Linked DNA regions of Homo sapiens: regions 1, 2, 3, 4, 5 and 7 are each linked to region 6. Evidence: promoter capture Hi-C in 16 types of primary human blood cells and fetal thymus (Javierre and others, 2016). All regions are on one chromosome and are shown on one strand. The core of a region is centred on a gene start or on the middle of the fragment in contact, and the rest is flanking DNA. Distances in the headings are between cores, read along the strand shown.

What was found. The method cuts DNA at HindIII sites, captures the fragments that hold promoters and counts their contacts. A CHiCAGO score of 5 or more calls a contact.
Region 1: a fragment that was not itself captured here is called in contact with the fragment with the promoter of ETS1 in region 6 in 9 of 17 cell types (activated CD4 T cells, neutrophils, naive CD8 T cells and 6 more); the score reaches 9.7 in activated CD4 T cells.
Region 2: a fragment that was not itself captured here is called in contact with the fragment with the promoter of ETS1 in region 6 in 9 of 17 cell types (total B cells, activated CD4 T cells, naive CD8 T cells and 6 more); the score reaches 13.8 in total B cells.
Region 3: a fragment that was not itself captured here is called in contact with the fragment with the promoter of ETS1 in region 6 in 9 of 17 cell types (total CD8 T cells, naive CD8 T cells, neutrophils and 6 more); the score reaches 8.6 in total CD8 T cells.
Region 4: a contact is called between a fragment that was not itself captured here and the fragment with the promoter of ETS1 in region 6, in 9 of 17 cell types (activated CD4 T cells, total B cells, total CD8 T cells and 6 more). The highest score is 16.1, in activated CD4 T cells.
Region 5: a contact is called between a fragment that was not itself captured here and the fragment with the promoter of ETS1 in region 6, in 10 of 17 cell types (total B cells, activated CD4 T cells, total CD8 T cells and 7 more). The highest score is 15.9, in total B cells.
Region 7: a fragment that was not itself captured here is called in contact with the fragment with the promoter of ETS1 in region 6 in 14 of 17 cell types (activated CD4 T cells, total B cells, naive B cells and 11 more); the score reaches 25.7 in activated CD4 T cells.

Annotation. Positions count from the first base shown.
Region 1 is chr11:128,776,292-128,779,439 of GRCh38, reverse strand. All of the region lies in intron 4 of FLI1 (Fli-1 proto-oncogene, ETS transcription factor), which reads right to left. Among named protein-coding and RNA genes, the nearest start is that of SENCR, 82 kb to the right of the region's middle. RefSeq lists an enhancer at 2,107-2,712. The HindIII fragment of the contact is 3,048 bases long and covers 358-3,148 here.
Region 2 is chr11:128,836,389-128,839,308 of GRCh38, reverse strand. It overlaps KCNJ1 (potassium inwardly rectifying channel subfamily J member 1), which reads left to right. Exons shown (of 3, transcript NM_153766.3): 3 at 1-1,289. The coding sequence ends at 184. Among named protein-coding and RNA genes, the nearest start is that of KCNJ1, 29 kb to the left of the region's middle. The HindIII fragment of the contact is 1,052 bases long and covers 725-1,776 here.
Region 3 is chr11:128,798,613-128,801,958 of GRCh38, reverse strand. The region is part of intron 5 of FLI1 (Fli-1 proto-oncogene, ETS transcription factor); the gene reads right to left. Among named protein-coding and RNA genes, the nearest start is that of KCNJ1, 67 kb to the left of the region's middle. The HindIII fragment of the contact is 1,322 bases long and covers 1,419-2,740 here.
Region 4 is chr11:128,379,580-128,382,467 of GRCh38, reverse strand. No RefSeq gene overlaps it. Among named protein-coding and RNA genes, the nearest start is that of MIR6090, 140 kb to the left of the region's middle. The HindIII fragment of the contact is 1,672 bases long and covers 476-2,147 here.
Region 5 is chr11:128,405,820-128,408,725 of GRCh38, reverse strand. No RefSeq gene overlaps it. Among named protein-coding and RNA genes, the nearest start is that of MIR6090, 120 kb to the left of the region's middle. The HindIII fragment of the contact is 3,668 bases long and covers 1-2,906 here.
Region 6 is chr11:128,585,921-128,588,920 of GRCh38, reverse strand. It overlaps ETS1 (ETS proto-oncogene 1, transcription factor), which reads left to right and starts at 1,363. Exons shown (of 10, transcript NM_001143820.2): 1 at 1,363-1,433. It overlaps LOC105369565 (a long non-coding RNA gene), which reads right to left. Exons shown (of 5, transcript XR_948163.3): 4 at 1,961-2,581. RefSeq lists a silencer at 1,204-1,410. The HindIII fragment of the contact is 9,036 bases long and covers 15-3,000 here.
Region 7 is chr11:128,340,405-128,343,444 of GRCh38, reverse strand. No RefSeq gene overlaps it. Among named protein-coding and RNA genes, the nearest start is that of LINC02098, 130 kb to the right of the region's middle. The HindIII fragment of the contact is 4,157 bases long and covers 1-3,040 here.

The DNA.
Region 1 (3,148 bases), core at 632-3,131, 190 kb before region 6:
TCTGCTGCAATAAGAAATAATCCGGCACGACTGGAAGGAAGTGAAGAAATGGAACCAAATGTTCGGAGGGAATACAAAAAAATCCCAGAAGTAGGACCAAGAATGCTTGCCTCTCCGTCCCTGACGTTCTCTCCCTCAGGCTGAAACCTCACTGCTGGAGCAAATAAAGAAAAATGATGGTCTCCGAGGAGCAAACTGCCTGAGTCATTAGTGCAGATGTAGCCGAAAGCACGAACCTTAGATAAACCACATTTATTAAATTTCCCCATTGGTGAAAGTTCTTCTTTGGGCACACATGAATTCCACAGGAAACTCCCAGAAAGCTGAGAGAAAGGGTCATTTGACCTCTCCAAAGCTTGCATGAAATGTATATTTCATGGCAACCTAGGAAAAGGATTTTGCCCTAAAGACTGTTCTTGGTTCAAGTTTCACTCCTAGAAGGAGAGGCTGCCTTCCCCAAGGAGGGGCTGGTTGGGGGCATCTGGCCTCTCTCCCAAGGGACCTAGATTCCCTCCTCTTCTCCGATTTCTACTTCATTAGTTCCCCAGGCTCTGTTTTCTTAAGGAACTTGTTCTGATGCAGGCAGGTCCTCCTGGAGTCTGGCCTCCCTCTCTGTGGCTTTGGACTGCTTTCTCCTGCCTTGAGGCTCTTTCTGGCCTGACCCTGCCACAGGCCTGTGCTGCTGAGCTCCCCCACCTTCCCGATGCCAGCACATCAGGGTAAACAGGCCATGATGAAGGTGGTGGTGGGGACGCAGTGCTCCCTGAACATGCACGGTGTGCCAGACGCTTTCCATCTATTTTCTCACTTAATCCTTGCATAAGCCATACAGAGCCAGCATTCCCTTATTCCTTTTTACAGATGAAAGGAGCAACACTCAGCGAAGTCATATCATTTTCCCAGGATCACACAGCCAGAGAGTGCAGAAGGCAGGAGCCCCATCGTGGTCTATTCACAAAACCTGTCCTCAATCTGGCAGATCCCACTGCCTCCAGGCTAAATCGTAGAAATAGGCAAAACTCACCTATGGGGCTGGGAAGCAGGGTGGTGGTTAGTTTTGTGGAGGAAGCGGTTGTGGGGTGGAGAGAGGGTACAGGGGGCTGAAATTCTACTCCTTGGCCCGGGAGGTGCTTATGGGAGTGGGTGGATTCACGTCACGATAATGTCTCACGTAGCGCACTTCATGATTTTTGCACTTCTCTCTGTGTTGTACTTCAGTTCAAACTGAAGTATAAGATTTGCCTACTTGGTTATTTGTAAGTTTCTGTATATGTGTTTGTATGTATATATTTGTATATGGGTGTGTATGCATATACATATATCTATTTATTGAGGGCATTTTTGCTCTAAAAAGCATAAAGTAGCTCCTGCTGAGAATAGAATGGCCTTCCCAAAGTGCAAGCATGGGGAAAAGATCATTTTCCATTCCATGTTTGAATCCATGTGCTGCTAGAGACAGTACCTGGATCTGAAAGGAGAGGGGAGTGAGCAGTGTGAGGCTTTGCAGGTGTGGGGTAGAACCCCAACAATCACGGTTTCTGCTGCTTCACATTCCCTCAACCTAACCTGCTTTTCATCGGGGACACCTGGGCCAGGGGGCGCAAGCGTCCCAGTGCCAAAGCCTTTGTCTCCTGCCTCGCTGTGACCATAGAATTCACCAGTGCCCCCTCACAGCCAGCCTATTGAATCCAGGTCTCTCTTTTCTCTGGGCTGCACTGCTATATCAACAGCTCTGGCTGAGTGTGCAGGAGCGGGAGGGTGCAAGGCTCTGGGATCTTTAAACAACAATCCTGGCTGACTACTGGGTCCAGGGAAACCTGGCCTTTTGTTCAGCTGGCATTCTGTTCTCCTTCACCAGTCAAACCCAGGCCTGGAAGTGATAAGATTGCACCAGCTTAATTGCCCAGACTCAAAACCTCTGCCCGACCATCTGAGGCTGCAGGTGGAAAGACCAGAAAATGCAAAATGTGTTTTCCATTAAAGTTTAAATTAAAAATGGGAATGAAGATAGACACCCTTTCCGTGGTCTCCCGGTCGCGCAGTTTCATTCTTTTGAGCAGCCACTGTTTGAAGACGCAGTTTCTTAGTGTTTTTTTTTCCAGGTCAGACCCAGATTGACATACAAAACGAACTTGTTTGTAAAACTTAAAAAAGGCTCTTTTTCTTTCTGCCTCCCCACCTCCCCCGGGGCCTCGGGGCTCCCAGCCTTGCGCAAACTCCCCCCAGCGGCCCTGAGCCTGAACTGCCAGCCCGGCGCCCTCCGTTTCTTCGAGGTCCTTCCCCGCCTTGGCCTGAGAAGGGACAAATCTCGTTCCCGCAGCAGCTGCTGCGAAGGCTCCTCTGCCACACGGGGTGTGTCCGGGAGAGATACTGGTGGGGCCGACAGTCAGGCCCAGAGAAGGACAAAGTTAGCGTGGTGATAGGTTTGGCTTAATCGGCCTCCTTCCAGGAGGCCACAGGAAAGTTTTTGGAAAGCATTTATCTCTTGGTACAAATGACAACAGAAAATGCTGTGGGGGAAGTGGCCGGGCTGCCCACGTGGAAGGCCGGGAGTGAGGCTGCCTTGCCTGTGTGGCGCAGGCTGGCTTGCTGTCTCCAGGGCCGGGGGAACGTCGGCAACGCGAGGCCAGGGACTGGGACTCCAGAGGCCCTAGTCTGAGATGCCAGGTGCTCTCAATCGGCTGGATGCCTTTGAACCAATTTCTGAAGCTGTCTGGGCCTCAGTGGGTTCAGCTTCAAAATGGGTACTGTAGATAGTTGTCCACAAGGGGGCAACCTTTTTTCCTCTGAAGACAGAGCCTCGGTCTATCGCCCAGGCCAGAGTGCGGTGGTGCGATCTCAGCTCACTGCAGCCTCCCCCTCCCGCATTCAAGCGACTCTCCTGCCTCAGCCTCCCAAGTAGCTAGGATTACAGGCGCCCACCACCACACCTGGCTCATTTTTGTATGTTTAGTAGAGACGGGGTTTCACCACGTTGGCCAGGCTGGTCTCCAACTTCTGGCCTCAGGTGATCCACCCGCCTTGGCCTCCCAAAGTGCTGGGATTGACAGGTGTAAACCCTGGAGTTTCCCAGGACTCATGGGAATTACCCCCAAGAACCGTGGCCACCCCAGCCATCACAGTCCTCCTTGCATTTCCTGTGGTGGTG
Region 2 (2,920 bases), core at 1-2,500, 250 kb before region 6:
GACAAAGGAAGGGAAATACCGAGTGGATTTCCATAACTTTAGCAAGACAGTGGAAGTGGAGACCCCTCACTGTGCCATGTGCCTTTATAATGAGAAAGATGTTAGAGCCAGGATGAAGAGAGGCTATGACAACCCCAACTTCATCTTGTCAGAAGTCAATGAAACAGATGACACCAAAATGTAACAGTGGCTTTTCAACGGGAGTAAAGCAAAGTCTCTAAAGCTCCTAGTACCTAGAAGCATTATGAAGCAGTCAACAATTTAGGGGTACGAAAGTAGGATGAGAGCCTTCAAAGTCTACCAGCACAAAGACCCCTGAGCCCCGCAATTGTGATCCCACAAGACATGCATCTCCACAAGGCTACTGTATTAGAACGTGCAATGCATTTATATGAAACTGGTGTATGGAAGACATAGGTGCTCTCTTGAAATCTTAAATATGATTATTTGAGCTCATATAAGGTGGATTGGAGCAGATAAAATTATCAAAAGTTTCATGAACAGGCCAAACAAAATATTTTTTAAAGTTTCCTTAAAGAAGTTATGAACTTTAGAAAGGATCAGGGGACAATAATAATCTCATTTTGATTCTACTGATAAGAATGACTCCACTTTTAATGTGGACTTTTACTCATGGAAAAATTGTCTCCTAATTTGGGGAGATGAACCAACCAATCAATGACAAGAAAACGCTTACACAAAGAACAATTTGAGGCTCTAAGCTTCTCATGTGGTACGTTTAGACAGAGGCTAAATCTGCACACTAGAATCTTGATGATACCTTCCTGCAAGACAGAATGCTTTAGTTAAAAGTGGTGATGATATTTCTTTCAATCTGTATTGGATGGCTTAAAGGGCTATAAATCTGTTTATAAAGAGCATTTCCTGCTCTTCGAAGACAGCAATGAGGAGTTGGAAGGTGCAAAGTCAGTAGAGAAGGGAATGTATCATTAATGCACCTGAGAAGAAACAGTTTCATGTGTTCCTCCACCTAGAGTTTGTACTGGAATGCTATTTCTAAAGAAGAAGTGGGAAAGAGAGAGGAATGGGATGGAGCCCCACAGTCAGAATGTTACTATGTCTTTCTTTCCCTGACAGCCCATCTTCCTAAAAGGGACCAGCTTATGGAAGGCTCGACCTTGAGGGGAAAGTTTTACTGTGAAAGTCTTCTTCAGATCCCCACCTGCATCATTCCGAATGTGTCCTGGAAAAAAACTGGTACTCAAAGCTGCTTAGGAATCAAAATGTTTTCAGTGTGTTGATTAATATAGTAAATTTCTGAAACTGTGCATGCACTTTGATTATTATTATTACTATGCATTAACTGAGTCAGGTTCCAGGTGAAAATCCTCTTGCAGAGAGGACCCTCTCCTGGAAGGGGCGGGAGGAGTGGAGAGGAAGCAGATAGGACACATTTGTTGTCTGGAGTCCTCAGGAGGAAATGACCCTGGCCACAGACACACCCCTTCCGGTACAGCTCCATCACGCCTCTCCAGTGTGAGTCTTGGCACATAAAACGGCAGCTGCCCACAGTTGTTGGGAGGGATGGCTTATGTTTTTCCATGCCTGGGCTGTATTTGTACAGATCCATGCACCACTCTGGTCCTTCTGACTAAGAACAGTGGGAAGTCTGATGGTTTTAGGGTTGCACACCTTGTCAGTGGCCATAACAGTGGCCATAGCTGGCCCATGTGGAACTCTCACTCTGTACCTGTGAGTGCTTTGGCACCACAATTTAATGTGCTGACAGGAAAAAGAAATCAGGTATCACAAGCTTGAGGGAGCTGGAATTCTCTGCTGGCCCACTGTCATGATGTAGCCCCTTCATAAACTGGAGGGAAACTGTGTTGACACTTGTTCCCATCAGCATGCACTCTTCCTGGTGTATTCTCCTGCTGGCTGGCAGCATGCATGTAGATGGCTGGAAGTGAGATGGTCATAAGCAATCCATTCCCTTTGATTGTTTAGGGAGGTGAACAACATACATCTTTCTGATTGGTATTTACTTCTGGGTTATTTGGTGGAGGCCCATCTGCTTCTAAATATCCCTTTGCTAGGATCAAGACACTCTGCACCTGGAGTCTCTTTTTTAATGGAAATTCCCATTGACCCTCTAGCAACCATTAACACAGGTACATCCAATTAAGCCCCTAGGAAAAGAGGCCTGGAACAGGTAACTTTTGATAGGTCTAAGGAGTGGCTGGAACCCCAAAGCGCATAACACTCCTGTGCATTTTAAGAAAGGGGGTAACAAGGGAATGGGTGCTCAAGTAGTAAAGAGAAATGAAAAATAGCCTGAGAAGGCCAAACTGCTTGTAGGTTAACACCACTGCTAAAGGCAGCCTTTTTATTACAATGCAGTGACATTTTTCCCGGTGGAATCTGACTACATCAGTACTGCTATTTGCTACAGATGCTGGGTTATTCTATTTGCTGATTTCAAAAGCATGTCAACTGTTCTAATTTCCTTCGTGAAAAACTGCATCCCATGATGCATTATTATATTCAAAATTTTCCTTGAGACTGATTCTCTTTGAATTGCCCAGTTCATCTCTGTTGCTATGGGGATTTTGACTAAGAGCGTTTGATCCTGGTTGAATCTTCCTGGACTTAGGTTGGCTCAAGCTCCAATATTTAAGAGTTAAGATTTGGGAGGTTGTCTTTAATGGAAAGCACTAAATGTTTAAAAATTATTTATTCCTTAAGAGAGAAAAGGTAGAAGGGAAAGATCCTTTTGTGTTGCCATGCCTTTTTAAGACATGGGCTGATAGGTGACTGTCCTTCTCTATCCATCACTAAGGGGATGTGCAACTGGACCTTCCAGAAGAACTCCCTGGGCGGATTGCAGAGACGGTTGAGGAAGTGTCTTCCTTGGGGATTTTTCATGAAACAGAATATGGGTCCTCAACAGGATGCTTCT
Region 3 (3,346 bases), core at 830-3,329, 210 kb before region 6:
TCTGCTCTTCCATTTTCACTTATCACATAATTTAATCAGTAATTAATTTGTATTTGTCGTTTATGGTTCATATCCCCCTCCCTCCTGAACATCAGGTCCATAAGAGTAGGGATCTCTGTTGTGTTCTCTGATACATCCAAGCACTTAGAACAGGGCCCCACACAGAGTTAGTAGACTCTAAGTATTTGTTGAATGAATAAACTTGGCCAATATTTTCTCCTACTTGCTACATACACACAATTCTTCTTATTGTTCATGATATCACTAGCTGAAGAGAACCCAGTGCTCCTACCCTGACTTCTTCACGAAATTAAGCCTCCAGGCAAAAGATTTCCATCTGGGGTGTTGAGGGGTACAGACTACATCACTCCTGTGTCCCCTCTGAGTGGACCACAATCCACCTATTTATGTATGAGGCATAGGCTAAAAGCTTGTTCCCACAGGGAAGTCAAGGCCTGAATGCTGCTCGGTGAAGTGGTGTGCATTTTATGTGTTTTTAACAATGTCATTGTTGAAGTGAGGGTTCATATTTTTTTCCTACTAAAAGTCACTCAAGAAGAATTTAGCAGTGTGGTCATCTCTAGTCCCCAACATACACACAGAGATATGTCTATAACCTGAATGCAGAAGCCTGAACCAGGGAGCTGACCCAGTGGCTCACATCCCCACACAAACCCCCTTGCAGAGCCCAACACCTGGCTGCATGAGAGCTCCTGCCCCGACTCTCCGTCAGCGCATGGAGTGGGGCTCAGGCAGGGTGTGCCTGCTATGAGAAGAAGCCTGAGCGTGCATGGAGGCCCTCTCGAATGTGGTGCCTGGAGTCTGCCTCCTGAGAACTGACAAACTTGAGGTGGCAGCCAAAGGCCCAGTGTGTAAAAATGTGGCCGTCGGCACCAGTGTACCAGTTGATGATCTTGGTCTGTTTCTGTGGTGGCAGATGGCTTAATCAGCAGACAATCACACCCTGGTTCTGACAAACTAACTTTTCACTGTCGTGAAGGCTGACACCTTGGCTTTACAGAGTACCAAGATAACAGATCTTATTATTGTGATTCCTTTTCAGAAGAGTGACCCAAAGAGCTTTGCCTGGAGTTTCTGGTTTCAGGCAGTCCTGAGATCAACTCTTGCCAAAGCAAAGAGGCCGGAGCCTCAGTCTGGAGAATGAAGACATTGCCAGCCATTGTGGATAATTCAGCCTCACATATATGATGTCCTTAACAGTATCACCATTATGTGATGCTTAGTGGGGCTGAATTTGACACTAAATGGCCTCTTAGATTCCAGGAGAGCCTCCTGAGGTAGAGAAATATGAGCATGGAGATTTTTTTCCGCAAAGTCTCTGTTGGAAGGCGAAAGCTGTTTCTGGACATGACCCTCTCATAGACATACCAATGTTAACTTAGCTTCTGTGTGAAGCTTTTAACCTGGTCCTAGAAATATGGCCAAACATCTTTGGGAAGATATTTGCTTCTGCTCTGATGCCTCTGCTGTCTGAAAGCCCAAACGTCCCTGCCGGCATGCAGCGCTCCACCTTGTGACCTGACCAGAGGCCAGCAACACAGCGACATCAGCCCACAAAAGCCTCTCTCTTCATCCTCTGTGTCATAAAACCTTGCTCTCAATGACTGGGTGGAAAAAGATGAATTTTCCCTGAAACTTCTCATTGAATTTCTGGTTGCTGCTAAGAAGGCTGGCAGCACCTAACCCTGTTTATCCTTGGAAAGCCTGGCTTCTGAATGCAGACCTTTCAGCCGAGCAATGGGCAAGGCTGCTCATGCTCCCAGCAGAGCAGGGGGATTTGGTAGCCAGATCCAGACCTCCTTTCTTGAAAGAGTGAGGATGCACAGGAGAAATGCTCAAATCAATGGCAGACCTGAGACCCAAAGCCCTCAACTTCCCAAGAGAGCCAAGCCCACGAGGAGGAAGATTCACTCCCAGACTCCGACAGGGAAGAAACTGCAGGTGAGCGGCGGTCTTTGTTGTTGGGCTGTCCGACAGGTTATGACGTGTACTGGTAGAGGGCTGGACTAGGAGATCCTCTAAAACCCCATCTCCATCAGAGGTCCTGTGCTTCTAATAGGTCCAGTCTTTGGGGAGGAGCAGCCTCTCCCAGCCACCAACCTGCAGAAGCTGCTCTCCTCTAAGCGTTCCTTCATCCTGCTCTCCACCTGTGAGAACTGCTGCACTGCCCGAACCTTCCCAACCCACAGCTCAGGACCAGCTTCTCATCTGCTGCAGTCTTTGCTCGAGTCCGCGCCCTCAGCCCCACCCTGAGGCAAAGTAGATGCAGGGCTTAGGATGTCATCACGAAGGTATCCTTTCTCTCTGGTGGGCCTGGGGATTATTTTGGCAGTTAGGAGATAGGACTTCGAATCAGTTAACCCGGGATTCAAATCCCAGCTCCGCCATTGGCCTTGTGGAGTGACCTTGGTCATGTTGCTCAGCTGCTTTGAACCTCCAGTTCTGCTTCTCTGAAAAGCATTAATAACAGGTGCTTTCTACGGTTGCTATGAGGATTAAATAAGCATGTGATAAATGGTGATTTTAAAAATACACACCATATACATGGAGTCTATTCCATCCTGCTTGCCCCTCTACCATGCTTATCTTGGTGAGATGAGATTACCAAGCCCATTGAGGAAGGCCTTGAAAAGGAAGAGAAGCCTGAGGGCTATAAAGGATGAAGGACAGTTTTATTCCTGTGCTCCTGGAACAGTGATTCCCAAATTTAAATAAAGCTTGGCTCTCAGGCTGGGTGTGGTGGCTCAGGGCTGTAATCCCAGCACTTTGGGAGGCCAAGGTGGGAGGAACACTTGAGGCCAGGAGTTTAAGGCTGCAGTGAGCTATGATTACACTATTGTACTCCAGCCTGGGTGACAAAGTGAGATCCTGTCTCCAAAGCAAAATAATAATAATAATAATAATAATAATAATAATATAATAAAATAAATCGTGGCTTTCTTTTAAAAGAAGAGGTGGATTATTATCCTGGACCCTGGTTTGAGAAACCCCACCCCAGAAGACAGAGAGGGCTGATGGCTACAGGTGGTCTGCCTGGCTGTTAGGCCCAGGCATTACCCAGCATCCTCCTTCCTCCCCCACTGTCAGGTGCCAGAGTCACTGGCCACCTGGCCTTGAAGCTCAGGACCAAGTCCTCACTACATCCCACCATTCTAGAGGGGCTATTAAACCTTCACTTCAGCGGCGTCTTACATCCCAAAGAGCAACAGAGGAGCTTGGCATCCACTGAGACCTTGGAAGGAGGAAAATATCCAGGGAACGCTTTCCCCAAACTTGGAACTCACAGGGAAAAAACATCCTGGATCAGGTTTCCTTTGCTCAAGGA
Region 4 (2,888 bases), core at 62-2,561, 210 kb after region 6:
CTCTTGAGCCCAGGAGGTTGAGGCTGCAGTGAGCTGTGAGCACACCACTGCACTCCAGTCTGGGCAACAGAGAGAGAACCTTTCTCTAAAACAAATAAAAAACAACAACAAAACCTTATTAATTTAACTATCTAAAAGAAACAAGTAAATTATAATGATATCTGTATGTCTCACACAATGAATGAAAAAATGCCATAGTTAAACATATGGTCAATTCACAGAATACCAAGAAAAAAGAGAAGATTCTAAAAGCCCACTGAAAAAGAAAGAGACACACAGAGAGAGAGGTGGTGGTGGGGAACAGGAGAAAAGACATTGGAGCATTAGCATTATATTTTTTAGGAAAAATGAGTTTTCAACCTAGAATTCTATACCCAACTACACTATCACTAAATTGTTATGGTAAAATAAGGACTTTTTTTTTTTCCTTATAAGGACTCAGAAAATTCACTTTATACACTTATTTTAGAAAGCTTCCTGAAGAAATGCCTATGTTAGATAAAATGACTCAATGCAACAGTAGAGAGCTATAACTCAACTGGTTTACACAGAAAGACAGCGATTATCTCAAATAACAAGAAGTCTAGAATGGACAGCTATAATGTTGACTCAATTATGTTACCAACATTTTAAGTTCTTCCTGCTTTGCTTTTCTGTTGTTCTTGGTGAGTTGCATCATTCTTGAGATAGCTCTCTTTGCATTGGAGGATTACTTGTATAACCAGATATCATGTACAGATAAGAAAATGACCAGAGGAATAAAGGACATTCTCTTTTTGTGAATTTTTTAAATCAAAGACTTCACCAGAGGTTCCATGACAAAATTTCCCTTTCATTGTCTAAAATTGACAATATGTCCACTTTTCAACCCATCAGTAGGAAGGGAAACGTTGACACAATTGACTTGGTGAAGTTCAAGATCATTAACATAGGGTGGTATACCAGAATGAAAAGTAGGATATGTTAGAAAGAAAGAGGGATGTGTGTTTGCTGCAATGCTGCAACAAACCAGGGATCAAACCAACAAAGAGGATATAGGATCTAGATATGGTGGAACTGACCCAGGAAAAGAATAACAATTCCCAGGAAGATGAATGCACATGGCCTGAAGGCACAGCTGTCGATTAGAGCAGAAGGACAAAGGGGCCTAGGCAGGAGAATTGACGTAAAAAGAGAGTGGGAAGGATTTTTGATATAAAATTCTAAAGTGTGATAAAGGCAAAATTTTAAAAAACTGGCATCTAGAAATCTCAGAAAAAGGATAGAGCATTATAAGAAAGAACTGTAATCATGAAAACACTACGTTACTCTGCTTTGTGCAATACTGACACAGTCAAAATAACAGGGATAGGGTTAGTTGACTTTCAACTTCTATAATCAGCTCAGTGATGCAAGCTGGCTATGGAATAAAATGTACCTTCCCTCCTCTGTGACAATATAAAAGAAGTGCGCATGTGAGAAATTGGGAGGTAGCAGGTGGTGCGGTGGGGAGAGCTGAGAGTAGAAAGAAAAGACAGGGATGCTAAAAGATGTTGCCTTTAGTTGGTAAAACAAGAAACAAAAGTATGATAATAAGTAATTACAAAAGATTAAAGAATAAATGACATAATTTTTATTTACTACGAGATTGGGTTTAGGGTGAGTTTGTGTGAACTAAATCTTAATCTATCATAGTGGGGATTCAAAAGATAATGTATAAAATGAATAAATTAAAAGTGCAGGCAAAAACATGCATTGTCTAGAAAGATGGCACTAACTCCCAGAAAAATAGCCCAAAGAGTTAAAAGAGTTTTCTCTGGGGAGGGGAAGGGGAAGAGGGAAGGGACAGAGGCCTTTCATGTATAAGCCCTTTTTATTATTCTTTATTTCAACCATGTGCACACATATTATTTGATAATTGAAAATATATTGTAAAAAATAATTTATTTTTACTTTCTATCCTCATAATGCAAACGTATTTTATATTATTAATTTTCCACTTACAGCTTTAACAAAAACATTTTCCTTGACAGTACATGGCCTTTATGATGATTCATTTATATGATGATGTAATATTTTGTATGGTTTCTCTGGCAGTCCTGATCCATTCATATTCCTTCTCTCAGTTTTCCTGTGTCTATGAATACCTGAAAGAAGTGGTTGAAGCTTGGGGGAGCAGTCTATGGCCAAAGAAGGACATTGTTTTTCTCTTTTTTTTCTCTGAAAATAGCTAAATATTGACCTGGGCCTCATTAGCACTGTGCATTAACCAAGTTCAAAGCACCAGGCAGAGCTGTGTAGAGGTCTCGCTTACTGCAGCAGCCCCTGGGTGGTGCACACACACCCTGAGACCTACAAGGTTAGAGACAGTTGCATCCCAGCCTGGACAGCATCAACCCAAGGCTGCCCTTTGCACTGACACTGCTCCCAAGTTCATTTGAAATGGGGACTGCCAGAAAGACAAGTCTTCATTTGCAAAGCAAGAGCATGGTTTTAATTATCCTTTAGATCCATAAAAAAGCAAGGGGGGTGGGGATAGATTTATGGCTTTAAATTCTCTTCTTTGCCATTTATAAAACAGTATTTATCAGGTGTGGGGCACATGGCAGCTCTGGGGAGTGCCAGACGGGGATCAAAAGCAAAGCATAAAAACCTTCCCCTTTCAACATACCTAATCTCTTCCTTCTATCTATAAATGGCCACATTTACCTCCTGGCTCAGAAAAGTGATTCATTCTGGCACTTTGCTGTTTGAGGTATCAAGAGTGAGTAAGAGTGTGCAGGGTCTGTACTAACTGCCCTTTGATGTTTCCTTCAGAAGAACAGAAAGATGGCCAACAGCCCCTGGTGGGTGTTGGCACTGCCATTGCCTTGGAGAGTGTCCCTTTCACAGGGAGACATTTGCATCCT
Region 5 (2,906 bases), core at 104-2,603, 180 kb after region 6:
AGGAGTCTCTTTGCTTCTTGGGGTAACACTACCCCTCCTCCAACTTGTGAACTAAATACAGGACCTATTCTAGCATCAGGCCAGCTGTTTCAAAGTTGGTTAGTAGAAGAAAAGCTAGAAAAATATTAGGCTGGACTGAAAGGAAATCAGGCTGTGGTGTTTTTAAATTTGGGTTCAATTTCAGAGCTTTAGTATTGAACTCCTTTGGGCAATTTCTATCAGATATATCATTGCTGGACTATGCCTAGTGTCAGAAGAGATTTGTAAACATTCTGTGGGCTGAGCTGAAAAATTGCTGCAAGATTGTTTCAGTCAACCTTTCAAGGATAAATGATTTTTTTCATATTTCTTTTGGGATTCAAAATGCCATGCAAATGACCAATACTAGTCCCTTAATTGTTTGGGGTCAGATGAAATCTGGCAAGGCAGCAATGGGCTTTGGCTTTGCAAACTGATGATTGCACAACTTGAGGAATAGATAACATCTCTGCTCCTAAAGAATGGCTTTCTCAGCATATGGGAACCACAAAAGATTTGAGAAAATCTTGAAGCAAACTGGCTGGTATGAGCCAAATGCCTAGAAATAACACAATGAATCATGGAGAGCTCTCTTTGCTATAAGTAAGGGTGTATACAACAGTACCCATCAGCTAATTATAGCGTTGCTAATCTTTCTTCAACCTCTTCTCAGCCTTGCTCCAAATCTGAAACTTCTGGCCAGTTGCTGGGTCACAGAATAGTAGTTTCTCACCATTCTTTTTGTCTTTCCCTTCTAAATAGATTGAAAGAGACAGGCAGAATGAAGTCTGCAGTTAGTGTGACAGTATGAACTGCTCACATCTGTGTAAGGATATGGGGAGGACACTAGTCACTTGCTAACATGGTTGCTAAGAAATGGAATGGGGAGATGTGAATGAAAGGTTATGGGAGAAGGAAGAATGGCTGGGGTAAGACATGGTGAGAGGGGGCAAGGGCTACGGACAAGCTCAGTCTACTTTGGGGTTCTCGGTAAGGCACAAGATTACCTTTCCTGTCCTGTCCAGGTAGAGGAATTCTTCCCATGGAAATTTTTTTTCACTCTCTTTCTTCTCTCAATTCTTATTAATTATTCATAAATTTCTCAAGATCTGTTCCTTCTGATCCCTTATCTCTCTTCTTTATTTTTTCCGCCACTACCCAAGGCAAACACAAGGAGTATTTCGAGGCTGTTTAATGGACAAGGCAGTCAGAGTTGGGGTGTGGAGAGGATAAGGGACTTGGTGAGAAAATGGGGGACCCTCAGGGGCTTTCTTTTGTGGAGTGGAGGGCCCCAACTGCTCATTCTTTTCTTTTGTTTTTTTGCCCGTCTACATCAAACCTTGCTGATTATGCTCATATATTTGAGTGTCTGCTTATTGGGTAAGTGTGTTTTTTACCTTCCTTAACTTTCAAGGCACATGAACTTCTCTCTGCAGTGGAAAAAAATAATTATTCCTGTCAATTACCAGGCTGAGGTGTTCCTCAGGGCCCAGTCCATGACACATGCTTTTCCATATTAATGTATGGAAAATACTCCTGTAGATTTGAGCAGCTACCATTGCTTTCCCTAGCCCTTTGCTCAGAAGTAGGCACCAGTCCACTGGCTGTTGGGCAAAAGCCTGCTGAGAAATCCAATGCCTTGGCCAAAGATGCTTTGAAGAAATAGTAAGTGAGGCAGCTCTGACCTCTTCTTATAGAACTCCCTGATTCATAAAATCAAACAGCAAAGACTCCTAGAGACCACTGAGTCCAAGCCTCTTCATTTTATAGAAGAGAAACTGAGGTCCATAGAAGCCCATTTTTTTATAGAATGAGAAGGAAAGTGACTTGCCCAGGGCTCCTGCTTACAGTAGAGTTGGGACTGGCATTTACATCTCCTTATCCTTTACTTAGTCCTCTTCGTAATAAACAGCGAAACACTCAGGGGTCCTTCCTTCCTCTTTCCAAACCCTGGAGGAGCTGAGGGGGAGACATGGGGGCTTTACTCCTCGTGTTGTTTCAGACTCAGACTTCTCAGCTTCCACATTGAGAGACTATTTGCAATTGCTTCTCCTTGTTGCCCAAATTCCTGGCTGGCATTCCAGACTGACACCAGAGACTTCCTTCCCAGGGACATCCATCCTGGGCAGGTCAGCAGTTTGCATCTTCCCTGGGGCAGAAGTGGCAGAGTCTCAGAACTCTTGCTTCTTAAGACTCAGCTCAATCTCCACCTGACTCAGCAGAGGTTTCTGGAATCTCAGATGGGTCCTAACCAGAAGCAGCTAGGTTGCTTCTCTGTTTCTATAATGAGAAAACAAAAAAAAAAGCTGACTATGACCATTGAGAAAGAAAATGCACCCATGTAAACACAGCAATCTTTACCCTATAAATAACCCTAATTAAAATGAAAACACCCGAGTGCTCCCATCTTTTTTGATTTTTTCTTTCTGCTGGACACCATGGGAGGTCCTTGCAGCAGAGCTCTGGTGCTTGCCAACAATAACTAGGCTCTGAGAAGAAGCGTTTCTGTGCTTCTCTTGCCAGCTCAAGTCTAACTCTTTTCTGAGTCTTCCTTCTGGTTCTTCTCTTTCCCTTTCTGTCTTGTGAGGTGATTTTTAGAGCTCCCACATCTAATTCCATATTTCCTCCTGAAGTTCTAAGCATTGTCCGGTTGATTTACGAATGCAGTTCAGCAGGGCTTGATTCATCATGCAATTTGAATAGTGCTATGAGAGTCTCCCTTGGAGGGAGGAGCTGTGGCTATGTTAGTCTCATTTTCAAAATGGACCTGATAATATTAGACATAGCACAGAAGAAGTCTCTTTCTCTTATAAGCTGGTGGGAGTGGTAGAAGTGGCTCAGCTGGCTGCAAGGGCTGAGAAAAGCCCTGGGACTCAAAGCGGGGCACT
Region 6 (3,000 bases), core at 114-2,613:
GGCAGGCTGAAGCTTCCCTAGCTCTCTTCATAGACTTCTTTTGTAGCATGTATTACATTTTTGGGGGGAGATCGTTGATTTATGTGTCTGTCTCCTCACTACAATGCAAACTTGCTATCTTTCTAGTGCCTAGAACAGTGCCTGGCACAGGCAATTTATTAAACTAAAGTGAACCAATAGCATTACCTCTTCCTTACTTCCAAGTTAATGTGCAAAGGCAGAAGATGAGCAGTAAAATCTTGCTTTACTTACAATGTCATCTTAACTGCATTGCCAGCTTTATACAATGAAGGCTGATGATGATATGGCTCCAAATGACAGTTATTAGATTTTCAAGGATTTTCTAAGTTTGTATCTTTATTAAAAAGAGAAAGAAGCCAACTATGACAAATCTTAACTCCCACCTCCTACTCAAAGAAGATGGAATCTTTTAGGATAAAAGTCTTAGATTAAGCAGCCAAATACTGACTTCTCAAAAAAAATTGTAATAACTCCATTCATAGAAATGAGATTATGCTGTAACATTCTTACCATAGTCCTGAATATGTGAATAAAAGATGCTGTGTATTTTCACTTAGGACAGATGTAAGATTTTCATATTGTTTACATTTTCCCTAAATGAGAAATGTATGAACACTTCTGCCCTTTTATTCCTGCACCACGGACCATGAGTCAGGGCTGCTAAAAGTATCCTTATTTTAGAGATTGCCTAAAACCAGACTTATATGAAAAGGGGATTTTTAGCTTTACTTTTCAGAAATCCCAAGTCCATATCCAGTCAGCTCTCTTCCACAAAATTATTTTCTTTTCTTTAGAAAATATCACATTTCATATCAAGTTATTAGAGAGAAACGGGAAGCCTGAGCAGGTGACTGGGTGGTGGACGTCCTGTGTTTCTAAAGCAATCCCTTTCCCTCACCTGAGACCTTGCCTAGGTTAATGGGGGCTCCATTGAGAAAGTCAAGGAACATGAAGCATGAATATTTACATATTCAGCAGAGAGTAAATGCATCAGCAAATGATGAGGTGAGATACAGTGTTATCCCACTGAACTAGTTCCCTTTTGCTCATCTCCCTCCCTGTTACTCTCCAAGGCTGAGTTATATTCAGCTGAAGCACAATTTGAAGAATACGAAATAATGTGTGATTTGGTGCCACCACTGTCAATCAACAGTGCTTTCCACCTAGACTGCTGTGCCTGTGCCAGTGGCTGCTGTCCTGGTGCCAGGGGCAAGAGGAAGACTGCCTTTTTTCCAGCTTTCCCTGGCTTGACCACACCCCCCAATTTAAGGAGGCAGCTCTATTAGAAACATTATGGTCTTTGCATCCTCTTAAGCTACGGAGCAGAGGATTCCCGCAGGTAGTTGGAAAGAGACCACAGACTTTGAGGGAAGCTCACTCAGGATCTGCTCTCCGGCAAAGTAGTAAGTGAGGTGTGTGTCAGTTTCTGCCTAAAACTTTTCAGTCCATTTTCCTTTTCCTGCTTTAAAAAAATTTCTGTGGAATTAAAGAGTAAGTCGGTAGGGAGATTCAGGATACAAGTGAGTTTTCTCTTTCTCTTTTCACGTCTTTCTATATTCCCATTTAATTGTTTAACAATTTTCAAAAATACTTCCTAACCTCGTCAGAATAGTCTGAAAGCAAGACTATGTTTTTAAAAATGTTCCCTGCTTCACAAAAGTAAAACCATGCACGTTTTAGATACCCGTAGATTACTTGTCAGAAACCCTGATTTTTTTTTTTTTTTTTTGCAAATTGGAGCACTTCCAAAGAAATAAAGCTGTAGTTAAATATATAAATTTCTTTTTATTCTCTTTCACTCCTAGTAAATCTATTGTTTTACTTTTTTCTCCTGCTAGTAGTTTAATGAATTGCTTTTAATAGAGAGGAAATTGCTACAGGTTTGAATCTTGCTAGCCAAACTAGCCTGTTTGGTGTTTTTCTCTGTCTTGGGACTGACCTGCAGTTGTCCAAAGATCTACAAGTTCCTAAGTCTGTTGTTGAGACATGGTGTGGGTGTGGGCCGCGGTTGTCTCAGAGTTAGGGAGGTATTTCTTGTCCCCACGGTAGAGCTGGACTCAGTGGCAGGAGATGTCGATGGCAATTCCTCTGCATCCGGTGATTTTATCTGGCCGTGACACTTTGTATGTGACTCCTCACCCACCGTTAAAGGTCTCTGTTACCAACTTTTAAAGTAGTATTTTCTTCAGGCAAACTTAAAAGGGTGCTGGGTCACTGAAATCAATGCATTCTATTGCAGGATTTCTTTATCACCTTTTGGGTAAGTTTTTGTTTTTAATCTCAAGTCCATTTTCCTTCTTACTTTAGACCACTGCCATGCAACTGAGAAAAAAGTATTTGTTAAACAGCAGGAAATACCAATTCTAAAATGATAACTCCATCAGCTCCATTTGATTTGTAAAATTACTGATACTATAACTCTTTCATCAGTTGTGGTTTTGGGTTTGGTGGCCTATTTTTATCCAAAGAGAAAACGCTTTTTCTTCAGGGGCCGTGGGCTGTGCACAAGGGCTGCAGGGTGGCCACTGCTGCTGTTGAGAGTCTTGCTCACCTGTTGTTCCTGAATGGAGGGAAGGGAGAGCTAATGGGTTAATGTCTGCAAAGTGCTTTGAAGATGAAAAGGTCTTTTCATGTGTTCAGTAGTGCAGTTATTAATATTAATATTTGAAGAAGCATGCTGCTTCTAATTGTAAATCAACTACTTCCATCCTTGCCAACTCAATAGTGAAATAACAAACAGTTCAGGCATCCATGCAGCCTCTTCCGTCCTGGTTCCGCTGCTGAGGATGTGGGAAGCCAAGCCGAGAGCCTAATTATGGAGGGGGCATCTTTGCCCGGCAGGCTCCTTACACGGAGGTGCTAGTTGCTGGCTGTGAAAGGATGTCCTGAGGCAGAGCCTGGGGGAAGCTGGTAGAGGGGTGGGATCCTTTGGCATCTGGCAGTCTGTGGCCAGAGCACCGACTTGGGCCAGTGGCCGGT
Region 7 (3,040 bases), core at 381-2,880, 250 kb after region 6:
ATTCCAAACTGGAGTTACTGTAAGAATCTTCCTGAGAAGACAGGGCAGGAGCTTGGGTCATGAATGATGGAGCAGAGGTAAGGACATATTATGTACTGTTTTCTCAGATCTCCCCAGAGTCAGTCATCAAAATCATGCTGTCTGTTGCCAGCCATACAGATGGTACTTCTTTTCAATCTCTAAGTCCTTTTATTAACTAGAACAACAGCAATGTTTTAGATTCCTGTGCTACAGGGCATTTTTTTCTTCCCTGTGGCTGGCCCATGTGTTTAGGGAGGGCCGTGAAGGCTGAGTTCAGGGCTGCCTCTTGTTTCCCCCTGGCCTCCTGCTGCCAAAGTCTCTGCTCTCAGCCTTGTCAGGCTTAGCCCAGGAAACATCTGCAAGGGCACTTCACGGTGACGCATTCTCAGGATGAGACAGCCAGGCCTCAGAGCAGCCTGCTGGGCCCATCTCCTCCAGAACATGTGTGGGGAGGCTGAGGAAAGAGAACTTGGGGCTGGGCTTGTCACCTGGGGCACAGAGGGCTCAGATGACGTGATCCTATTGTCTAAAGGACAGCAGTCTGTTGTTTTTGTTCTTTTTAGTAAAATAAATAAAGCCTCCCATTTCTATGATAATGCATGAGCCACCAGAGCATGGCTTGATGGTCCCACCTGGACTCAATGCCTGGGCTGTCATGGAGGGTTATGGAGCAAGTGGGTGACTAATTATTTGCACAGCTCTGGCCTAATGAATAGCTTTGGATAGAGAACTTCCTGGAGTCAGCTGGGGAGTACTCCACCCATGCAGCTTGATTACAGAAGCTATTTTGAAGTGCATTTTTGTTACTCCCAGAGGCGAAGGCCACTTGATGGGCCAGATTGCCCTCGTAAGCCAAGCATGGCTCATTCTCATTGCACCTGAACATTCGGCACGTCCTGCACACAGGAGAGGGTGTCTGAGTGCTGCCCTCAAAGTGTGGGCTTCCTGCACCTATCCTGTCTCCGGCTTCTCTTCCAACTTTTGTTATTTCTGGGGAGAATGACTTCAGCTTGGGTTGCAGGCGAGGAAAGATTTTGAAATGTTTCTGTGTTGAGGAGTAGGTCCTCTCTCTGTCTTTACCTTCCCGTGTGCAGAAACTGCAGAGGACATGTGTTGCCCTTCCGGTGGCCTGGGAAGCTACTGGTTTTCCTTTTAGGACACGAAGGGTAGACTAAAGCTATGTTTTCTGCGATGTTTTACTTTAGTCGTGCTCATGCACTGTGCCAAAGATACTGAAGTGTACTTCCTAAAGAGGAGAAATAAAAGTGCTGGGGGCGGGGAGTTTGATGGGTTGGTCGATAGGTGATCCGTGATTGAGCATTACAAAAATGAGGCCTGAGCTGCTGGTGCTTAAAGTTATTTCTAAATGCTTGCCGAGGCGCCTAACTTCGCTTTCTTCTCAGTGCAGATCTCCTTTCACTGAGGTCCTGTGCGGGGAGCTTGTTTCTTTGATATGGAAATGTGCACATTGATTCCTGCTGGAGGACCCAGGAGCCTCTGGGACCCCGCAGCTCAGGAGGCAGTTTTGGGTTGAAAGTTGGGGAGCGGAATTCATCTGGTCTCTGTTTCCACTTCCTTCCTCCACGCTGCTGTCTGAAGTTTGTTTCTCTTCTGGCTTTCTCTTTCCTATCTCAGATTCTTTCCAGTGCTTAGGGAAATCTCTTTCCACTTTTCCGAAAGCAAAATAAATGAAGCCACGATAGAGGCTGCCCTGCTCCTCAAAATACCTATGGGGGTAAGACGTAGAAATCCTAAAGCTGAAGTGTGATTTGGGAGATGGGTACGCTATGCCCTGCCCACGAATAATTCAGAGTAATAGGTAGATTCTGCCTATTTTCTGAGTGGCTTTTAGATTCACTAAAAGGTGACATTGGATGAGGTTTCAGGCAACGGAGCCAAGACAGGAAACTCAACCAAGATGATCACCAGGGACACGCCCCTGCATTTCCTCAGAGTAAGAGAGATCATACATCTGACTTGAGGCTTTTAAGCAAGGAGACTAAAGGTTGTTTGGCACAGTACAGTATTCATTTTAAGAGACTACAGACATAATCCAACTGTGAGATTCTAATCCTTTCTACGGCTTTTCCTTGGAAACAAACTGTAGGCAAGTCGTTATAGCCATGGTGCCCCTACGGTCAGCATGTTTTTCGATGCCTTCACAAAATATGAGACTAGAAAAAAGAATGACTGGGCCCAAAATGTAAAAATAAAGCTGTAAATAAAAATTAATACATATTTAACTTATTAATAATTTTGTCAGAGACTGTAGCAATTCAACACAGATTATTTTTCCCCCTATTTTACTGAGGTATGATCGACAAATAAAATTTGAGTATATTTATCATGTACAACATGATGTTCTGATAGATGTATACATTGTGAAATGATTACCACAAACAAGTTAACTGATCCATAACCTCATAGTTATCTTTTGTGTATGTGTGCAGTGAGAATAGTTAAGATCTACTGTTTAAAAATATTTCAAGGCCAGGTGTGGTGGCTCACGCCTGTAATCCCAGCACTTTGGGAGGCCGAGGCAGGCAGATCATGAGGTCAAGAGATCAAGACCATCCTGGCCAACATGGTGAAACCCCGTCTGTACTAAAAACACAAAAATTAGTTGGGCATGGTGGCGCGTGCCTGTAGTCCCAGCCTCTTGGGAGGCTGAGGCAGGAGAATCGCTTGAACCCGGGAGGCAGAGATTGCAGTGAGCCAAGATCATGCCACTGCACTCCAGCCTGGGAGATAGCAAGACTCTGTCTCAAAAAAAAAAAAAAAAATCAATTATATCATATAGTATTGTTATAGTCACCATGCTGTACATTAAGTCTCTAGAACCTATTCTCGTAACGGAGAGTTTGTACCCTTTGACCACATCTCTCCTTTTCTCTTTCCCCCAGCCCCTGACAACCACTATTCTAATTCTACTTTCTGTTTCTATGAATATGACTTTTTTAAAGTCCACATATAAGTAAGATCATACAGTATTTGTCTTTCTCTTATCATATAGAATTTG